Regions from separate parts of the Homo sapiens genome. Here region 1 is linked to region 2. Evidence: promoter capture Hi-C in human tissues and cell types (Jung and others, 2019). All regions are on one chromosome and are shown on one strand. The core of a region is centred on a gene start or on the middle of the fragment in contact, and the rest is flanking DNA. Distances in the headings are between cores, read along the strand shown. Region 1 overlaps ZNF804B (zinc finger protein 804B). Region 2 holds the start of ZNF804B (zinc finger protein 804B).

Evidence for each region. The method cuts DNA at HindIII sites, captures the fragments that hold promoters and counts their contacts. A contact is called where the count stands out against the background at its distance.
Region 1: a fragment that was not itself captured here is called in contact with the fragment with the promoter of ZNF804B in region 2 in 2 of the 25 tissues and cell types used here (H1 embryonic stem cells and dorsolateral prefrontal cortex).

The regions. Positions count from the first base shown.
Region 1 is chr7:89,193,356-89,198,511 of GRCh38, forward strand. All of the region lies in intron 1 of ZNF804B (zinc finger protein 804B), which reads left to right. Among named protein-coding and RNA genes, the nearest start is that of TEX47, 400 kb to the left of the region's middle. The HindIII fragment of the contact is 4,016 bases long and covers 1,116-5,131 here.
Region 2 is chr7:88,756,508-88,761,263 of GRCh38, forward strand. ZNF804B (zinc finger protein 804B) reads left to right here and starts at 3,193. Exons shown (of 4, transcript NM_181646.5): 1 at 3,193-3,577. The coding sequence starts at 3,470. RefSeq lists an enhancer at 3,339-3,883. The HindIII fragment of the contact is 17,200 bases long and covers 1-4,756 here.

The sequences.
Region 1 (5,156 bases), core at 1,874-4,373, 440 kb after region 2:
CAATGTGCAGGTTAGTTACACATGTATACATGTGCCATGCTGGTGTGCTGCACCCATTAACTCGTCATTTAGCATTAGGTATACATCCTAATGCTATCCCTCACCCCTCCCCCCACCCCACAACAGTCCCCAGAGTGTGATGTTCCCCTTCATGTGTCCATTTGTTCTCATTGTTCAATTCCCACCTATGAGTGATAACATGTTGTGTTTGGTTTTTTGTCCTTGTGATAGTTTGCTGAGAATGATGGTTTCCAGCTTCATCCATGTTCCTACAAAGGACATGAACTCATCATTTTTTATGGCTGCATAGTATTCCATGGTGTATATGTGCCACGTTTTCTTAATCCAGTCTATCACTGTTGGACATTTGGGTTGATTCCAAGTCTTTGCTATTGTGAATAGTGCCACAATAAACATACGTGTGCATGTGTCTTTATAGCAGCATGATTTATAGTCCTTTGGGTATATGCCCAGTAACGGGATGGCTGGGTCAAATGGTATTTCTAGTTCTAGATCCCTGAGGAATCGCCACACTGACTTCCACAATGGTTGAACTAGTTTACAGTCCCACCAACAGTGTAAAAGAGTTCCTTTTTCTCCACATCCTCTCCAGCACCTGTTGTTTCCTGACTTTTTAATGATTGCCATTCTAACTAGTGTGAGATGGTATCTCATTGTGGTTTTGATTTGCATTTCTCTGATGGCCAGTGATGGTGAGCATTTTTTCATATGTTTTTTGGCTGCATAAATGTCTTCTTTTCAGAAGTGTCTGTTCTTGTCCTTTGCCCACTTTTTGATGGGGTTGTTTGTTTTTTTCTTGTAAATTTGTTTGAGTTCATTGTAGATTCTGGATATTAGCCCTTTGTCGGATAAGTAGGTTGCGAAAATTTTCTCCCATTTTGTAGGTTGCCTGTTCACTCTGATGGTATTTCTTTTGCTGTGCAGAAGCTCTTTAGTTTAATTAGATCCCATTTGTCAATTTTGGCTTTTGTTGCCATTGCTTTTGGTGTTTTAGACATGAAGTCCTTGCCCATGCCTATGTCCTGAATGGTAATGCCTAGGTTTTCTTCTAGGGTTTTTATGATTTTAGATCTAACATTTAAGTCTTTAATCCATCTTGAATTAATTTTTGTATAAGGTGTAAGGAAGGGATCCAGTTTCAGCTTTCTATATATGGCTAGCCAGTTTTCCCAGCATCATTTATTAAATAAGGAATCCTTTCCCCATTGCTTGTTTTTCTCAGGTTTGTCAAAGATCAGATAGTTGTAGATATGCGGTGTTATTTCTGAGGGCTCTGTCCTGTTCCATTGATCTATATCTCTGTTTTGGTACCAGTACCATGCTGTTTTGGTTACTGTAGCCTTGTAGTATAGTTTGAAGTCAGGTAGTGTGATGCCTCCAGCTTTGTTCTTTTGGCTTAGGATTGACTTGGCGATGCGGGCTCTTTTTTGCTTCCATATGAACTTTAAAGTAGTTTTTTCCAATTCTGTGAAGAAAGTCATTGGTTGCTTGATGGGGATGGCATTGAATCTATAAATTACCTTGGGCAGTATGGCCATTTTCATGATATTGATTCTTCCTACCCATGAGCATGGAATGTTCTTCCATTTGTTTGTATCCTCTTTTATTTCCACCATGATCAAGTGGGCTTCATCCCTGGGATGCAAGGCTGGTTCAATATATGCAAATCAATAAATGTAATCCAGCATATAAACAGAACCAAAGACAAAAACCACATGATTATCTCAATAGATGCAGAAAAGGCCTTTGACAAAATTCAACAACCTTCATGCTAAAAACTCTCAATAAATTAGGTATTGATGGGACATATCTCAAAATAATAAGAGCTATCTATGACAAACCCACAGCCAATATCATACTGAATGGGCAAAAACTGGAAGCATTCCCTTTGAAAACTGGCACAAGACAGGGATGCCCTCTCTCACCATTCCTATTCAACATAGTGTTGGAAGTTCTGGCCAGGGCAATTAGGCAGGAGAAGGAAATAAAGGGTATTCAATTAGGAAAAGAGGAAGTCAAATTGTCCCTGTTTGCAGATGACATGATTGTATATCTAGAAAACCCCATTGTCTCAGCCCAAAATCTCCTTAAGCTGATAAGCAACTTCAGCAAAGTCTCAGGATACAAAATCAATGTACAAAAATCACAAGCATTCTTATACACCAATAACAGACAAACAGAGAGCCAAATCATGAGTGAACTCCCATTCACAATTGCTTCAAAGAGAATAAAATACCTAGGAATCCAACTTACAGGGGATGTGAAGGACCTCTTCAAGGAGAACTACAAACCAAAAGCTTCTTAAGCTGATAAGAAACTTCAGCAAATCTTAGGATGCAAAATCAATGTGCAAAAATTTCTAGCATTTCTATACACCTACAGTAGGCAAGCAGAGAGCCAAATCATGAAAGAACTCCCATTCACAATTGCTTAAAAAAAAGAAGAAAATACCTAGAAATATAATTTACAAGAGAAGTGAAGGACCTCTTGAAAGAGAACTATAAACCACTGCTCAAAAAATCAGAGAGGACACAGGCAAATGGAAAATTATTCCATGCTCATGAATAAGAAGAATCAACATCATGAAAATGGCCATACTGCCCAAAGTAATTTATAGATTTGAAGCTATTCCCATTAAACTACCATCGACATTCTTCACAGAATTAGAAAAAACTATCTTAGAATTCATATGGAACCAAAAAAAGAGCCTGAATAGCCAATACAATCCTAAGTGTAAAGAACAAAGCTGGAGGCACCACACCACCTGACTTCAAACTATACTTCAAGACTACAATAACCAAAAGAGCATGATACCAGTATTAAAACAGACCCATAGGCCAATGAAATAGAATAGAAACTTTGGAAATAAGGCCACACACTTAAAACCATCTGATCTTTGACAACACGTAGACCAATGGAACAGAATAGAGAATTCGGAAATAAGACCACACACCTACAACCATGAGATCTTTGACAAACCTGACAGTGATAAGCAATAGGGAAAGGACTCCTATTTAATAAATGGTGCTGGGAAAGCTGGCTAGCCATATGCAGAAAATTGTATCTGGACCCCCTCCTTACACCTTATACAAAAATTAACTCGAGATGGATTAAAGACTTAAATGTAAAACCCAAAACCATAAAAACCCAGGAGAAAATCTAGGCAATAACATCTGACATAGGCAGAGGCAAAGATTTCATGAGAGAGATGCCAAAAGCAATTGCAACAAAAGCAAAAATTGACAAATGGGATCTAATTAAACTAAAGAGCTTCTGTATAGCAAAAGAAACTATCATCAGAGTGAACAGACAACCTACAAAATGGGAGAACATTTTTGCAATCTATCCATCCAAAAAAGGGTAATATCCAGCATCTACAAGGAACTTAAACAAAATAACAGGAAAAAAACCCTATTAAAAAATGGGCAAAGGACATGAATAGACACTTCTCAAAATAAGACATATGTACGATCAACAAACATATGAAAAAAAGCTCAACATCACTGATCATTATAAAAATGCAGATCAAATCTACAATGAGAGAGCATCTCACGCCAATCAGAATGGCTATTAGTAAAAAGTCAAAAAACAACAGATGCTGGCAAGTTTGCAGAGAAATAGGAATGCTTTTACACTGTTGGTGGGAGTGTAAATTAGTTCAACCATTATGGGAGACTGTGGTGATTCCTCAAAGAGCTAGTGGCAGAAATACTATTTGACCCAGCAATCTTAATACCTAGGTGATGGGATGATTTGTGCAGCAAACCACTGTGTCACACATTTACCTATGTAACAATCCTGCACATCCTGCAGAGATAGCCCTGAACTTAAAATAAAAGCTGAAGAAAAAAAATTATCTTTATATCTTTCAACTACTAACACCTAAAACAAAACAAAACGGAACAGAACAAAAAGGCCTCAGTGCCTGACTGCAGCAGTTTTAAAAGTTTTTCCAGGGACAATATGCGTTGCCACAAAAATCTGACAGGAAGAAAATAAAAAGCAGATGCAAAATATGTGAAAATAAAAGTGACACTACCAGCTCTGCCTTTGTTGATGGCTTCCTTTTGCAAATTGTCTTCCACTAAGTAATGTAGTCTGCATAAAAATCCTTTCATTTTTCTTCCTCTTTTCTTCCATTGGCTGTTTGATTATAATATTTTGTATATACTATAAGAGTTTTCATATTATCTACTTTTTTGTAACTGCTACATGAAAATAAAAAGAGAAGCACTTTTGAAATTTTAATTATGAGAAAACCAGGAATCTTAGATCTTGATTCAATCTATGTCACTCGGTTACTCATTAGAATTTATATTTTTCTCTTAACAGCACGCTTAGATTCTTGATTTTTCCTTTTCTTGTTATAATAGTATATGCACAGGTTAGTGGATTTAGATTTAGTTTCGTTATATAGAGTTAAAGATATCTTTAGTTAAAGATAGTTGACATTTTTGTACACTTTAGTTTTGAATACTGAAGAAATACCTCATTTCTATGTGAATAAATTATTCTTCAATTGAGTAGCAAATTGGATGCTTAGACATTACTAAAAGTTATTTAAATAATGACACCTTATTAGTATGTTTCCACATACAGATCTGGCCATTAAATATTGATGAGTAGAACACTGACCTTAGAATGTCCAAGTTTTCATGAAAATATTCACTAAATGAACAATAGGATTAGCAAACAAACGGATTATTAAACCTTTGCAAATAGATTATTAAATCTTTGCAAATACATATTTTTATTGCAATACTAGCTTGATCAACTAATGATATGATTTAAGGCATATAGGTTAAAATGGGGATAGTTTATGGAAATGCTACTCACACATATGGAGTCATATGTAATTTTTAAAGCTTTTAACTATTAAACAGGCAAAATAATTGGTGTGAATCTAGACATTCTTTTAGTTAGAAATGTTATAAATTGATACCTTTCATTTTACTATTTATAGTAAATGCATAAAGCCCAAAGTAATTTCTAATCACCTTGCATGTTCATGCTCACTATTTATGTTTACAATAATATTAATAGCGTTTGTAAGACTACATATTTTCTTCTAATGAAAGCATTATAGAATCAATTAGATCACATTGCAATTAGTGAAAAACACTATAAGCTAGTGT
Region 2 (4,756 bases), core at 1,943-4,442:
GTGTATTTAAGATATGTTGATAAAGGTAATAGAAGAGAGGACTTCTCACTGTGTCAATCATCTATGACACAGCTATGAATCTGGAAATATATGGAAATATCAACTTGGTTGCAGGCTGAAGTCCATGCCCTTTGCCATTCACATCCTCTTCCATGGAATGAGGACTCATCAGATAAAATATTGTTTTAAATAAATGGACCTTGTGAAATTGCACATGATATTTGCTTTTCATAATGTTTGCTGTAATAGAATTTTACTCGTATCTAAAACTCATTTGGCATAGACATATTTCCAATTTTCTTTCACTTTTCACTGAAAATTTTTAATTACTGGAGTTGGAAAGAAAGTATCTCTTTTAGTAGAGAGAAAAGTTAATACAACTGAGCAACTTGATATCTTTAGCAACTATGTAAATAAATATACACATCTTTCTTTTATTTACATTTGGTGAGCCACATCTAAAATATATGCTAGCAAAACTGGGGAGCTGTGAAATATGACGACACCACACTGATAGATATCAGTCACAATCTGGCAAGGAAAAGAAGGGAGTTGCTTTCATTTTCTGTTTGTTTTTAGAATTATTCTTAAAACTAGATAAATGTGACAATTGTGCCAATTTTTTGCCTCAATATTTTAAGATGAATGGCAAAAATTAGAAAGAAAAGGACAATCTAATGCTTAAAATATGGCAAATGAACAAATTCTGTATTATCCATTTCTAAAGGAAAAGTATTTCGAAATTTAAAAATTTTTAAGAAATTCAGCAAAATTACAGTAGTCTTTGAAACATTACTATAAAAAGTAGATTATTTTGTTTCCTCTGGGAAAAACTCAAATAGACACAGGATAATGGTCTAATGAACAAGAATGTCAGGATAGCTAACAAGTACTTTGAATAAGATATAAAACAGAATAGTGTGTTTGAATTTTATATTTTGATTACTCTTATCCATCCTTCCATTTTATAAAAATATGGCTGATTCGTAAAAATAATTAAGCAGTATTAGGAAGTATATTTGCTCAATGAAGAAGACATAGTACCCTTGGGCTGTTATTTACAGAAATGACATCATTCATCTTTCTAATCCATTCTAAGTTGCTTATGCGTTGGTCCTCAATGCTGTTTGCTACCTACATTTATTTATCCAGAGTGAAATAGTAACTATCAACTGAGCCACACTATCTTCTTCAAAAATTCCACTTTATTCATTTTTTGGTCAATATTTCACCTATTTTTGAAGTTTTACTATTTGCAAATACATTGTTTTCTTTGTATAAAATACATCTAATGTCTATACACTAGTAATATTACTTGTTCTCAGCTTCAGGAAACACTTTACAGCTGTAAGTTGAACAAACACTACGTTGTTAAACATGCCATTGTTGTGGTGTTAAATACATCAATAGAAAGGAGAAGATGGATCTGTTGCATCTGCTGCCACTGCTCTATAAATTTATTTTTATTTCAAAAGTTCTTACCAACAATTTATTTAAAATAAACAATTCCTGAGATTTACATTGCACTATCCCAGTTTCAGTAATTTTTATTCTGAAGGTTTGCAAGGAATTGGCATTTTTCCCTTATATACTCAGAAGCTTTGCAAACACTTTAAAAGACTATATAAAACCTTTAAAATGAGAAGTACATCTATGTATTTTTTAAATAAAATATTAAGGATATTAAGCCATTGTAATGATGTAAACAAAAAGTCAAGCTTTTATTGGGTAGTTACAAAAGTTATAATTAGATTCTTTTTTGTTCCTTTTTTGCTTAAGAATTTTATGAGTTGCCTGAATAGGAAAAATTAAATTAACAGTTTTTTTTTCCTTTTAACCTGTTTCTGCTTTTGTGTCAATGTCAACCGGGATGCGAATGGGGCATTGTGGGAGACAGGAGAGGACAATACTGGGGAGAATTAGCGCATTGGCGGTAGCCTTTCAATTCCAGCGCTGAAGCAACAGACTGAGAGGAGGTGAACCTTTACCTTCTCCCAGGCACAGACAAGGCGAGGTGAGGCAGAGATGGATTGCAGAACCGCATTAAGCAACCGCGGGGTGGAGGAGAGTGCAGGGTGTCTCCAAACCCTGGGAGGGCTATCTTCTCCTTTCAGAGCACATTTCTGCCCAGGTCTTTTTATTCTCAGTGCAGCTCGCTCCCTGGTGGCTTAAATTACGGTAAACGAAATAAGGTCCGTTAAAAACCACTTCTGAGAGGGGTGATTATTGGGGGTTTTGAAAGCACAGAGGTCTTATAGAGACCAAAAATATGTGCCTCGCTAAGATACAGAAAGGCTTGTAAGTGAATCTTCATAACTCTGGGTACGTGCATGTATATGCACATATACGTATGCATGTCTCGTTTCTATACCTTATATAAGTTTTCTGCCCAAAACTTTCCTCGTCCGTGCGTTCCCTACCACGGCGCATCTAATCTGTCTGCCCTATTTGTGGCTGCACAGCTCATTCTTGCAACCGGCTGGGGAGCTGTTGCTTCTGCCAACGCCGCCGTCAGCCAGAGCGCTGAAGAAAAGCTGAAGGCCAGCAGGCAACGAAAGAGTAAAGAAAACGCCCTCCTCCTGCCCATCTCCTCCACCACAGCCTCCCCAGTCCTCCCAGGTGACTCCCAAACAGTAGAAAGTTGGCTCAGAGATAGGGCAGAAGAACCGGGGGGCTGGGCGGCTGAGGCCGGGAGGTGGGAGAGGCGGGTCCTGCAGCCCCGAGAGCCCCCCGCGGCTGCAGCGGCAGCTGTCACCTCCTGGCCTCGCCCCACAGCACACCTGAGCCTCCTGGGCAGCCCCGAGCCCACAGCTCCCAGCAGAGGCGCTAACTGCCCTCCTCAAGCACAGGTCGCCGCGTCCCCAACTCCCTGTCCTCACCCCGGCCCGCCCGTCTCCTCCTCCGCCCTCTCCCGACTGCAGCGGGGGCAGCGCTTTGGCGCTCCCAAGGACTCCCCGCCACTCTCCCCACAAAGCAGCGGCGGTGGCGGCGGCTGCTGCTGGATCTTCACACTGCAGCCAGCAGCCCAGGACGCCCCCGGCCGGACGATGGGTACCCGCGCCTGAGCATCCCCCGGGCAGGCGCCAGGCGCGAAGGCAGGGGGCGGGAGGAAAGGGGCGGGGGAATTCCTGATTCCCTGGTGGACCCTGGAAGTTGTCCTTAAATAAATATATCGCTGGCCCGCGGTTGAGCAGCCACCTCGTCAGAGCAGCATGTGGACTGGCTCGCCGGGTCCCCTCCGTGCTCTGTGCTGTCGCCGCCGCCGCCTCTGTCAGAGCAGCAGCTGTCGGCAGCAGGAGCCCCGCACGGGGCGCGGAGCAGGGACGCGCTGCCACCGCCTCCCCCTGCGTCCTGCTGGCCGCGTCTTCTCGGGAGGTGGTAGTCGCTGTTGCCGCTGAGAAACCCGCCCGCTTTCCACGGCTGGTCGCCTGGTGAGGAGTTGAGACTCTGCGCCTCCGCCCGGACCCACATGGCTTGTTACCTGGTCATCAGTTCGAGACATCTCAGCAATGGGCACTACCGGGGCATTAAAGGAGTCTTCAGGGGACCCCTGTGCAAGAACGGATCTCCCTCTCCGGTAATGTGCGCGCGCACACACATACATACACAAACGTTCCAACTCAACACAAACAAAAAGATATTGAGAGATAGTATCCTGATACAATGAGTAGGTGGTGGACATCTAAAACGTATACCTTATCCATAGGTATGGAGATACATCGTGTCCGTTTATACAATTTATTGACAGACTGTGACACAGAGAGGGGTGTGTATTTACATGTGTATTTTCAATTCAGTCAGTAGGATCTATAGTGCTACGGATGTAAATACTTACTGAATGCAGTCAACTGCAGGGCTCAGAAGGTAGCTCCTCTGTGCTATGTCAACTTACGAATCTGCTGATTTGAGCAGTGTAGAAAGTTTGAGTGGCACGTTATAATGTGCTTTTGTAAAGTCATCAGTTGAGATTAGTTTAATAATGCTACTGTTACTTTGTGAGAAAAACTCAAAGATTTTCCCTCAAATCATTGGCAAAAGGAAAGTTATAGGTAGTGAAAACTTGATTATATCTAATGCTCAACTATGCACATTCTTTAAGGGGAAGTAAGAGAATTCTTTATGGAAATCTGAGTTGGATAATTTATTGTATAATATACAAATATATTAACATGCAATTAACGTGATTGCTTTTTAACTTAGTAAACTATTCAATTTAGTTACTATTCAGTTTATTCACATTCTTTTTATAAAATAATTTCATCCAGATTATATGAGTTAAATACATTATTAATTCATTTCTTGGTACATGCTATTATGTTTTAAGGCTCCAAATATGTTTCAAGAAAATGTGTGTGAATGTGTATGTGTGTGTAATTTATATATATATATAATAAATATATATATAATAAATATATATATAATAAATATATATATATATTAGTTTTGGACTACTAGTGACTAAGTATCCAAACTTAAAGACCAACTTTTGAGGTTTCATATAAAAAACAGTATTTAAGTCTGTATGATATCAAGAGGGAAAACTGAAATTGCCCAACTTTAATTTTTTTATGTTTGATATTTTCCATCATGGTTTAATGCTTCTTTAGCATGAATTATTCAAAACTGCAACATATTATAAAAGCCTTTGATTATTAATAAATGCTATATGTAATTTACATGAGAAATCTAAGATCAGAAAGTACAGGTGCCCAGAGATATCACTAGGATTCCTCATGACAAACTATTCCTTCACATG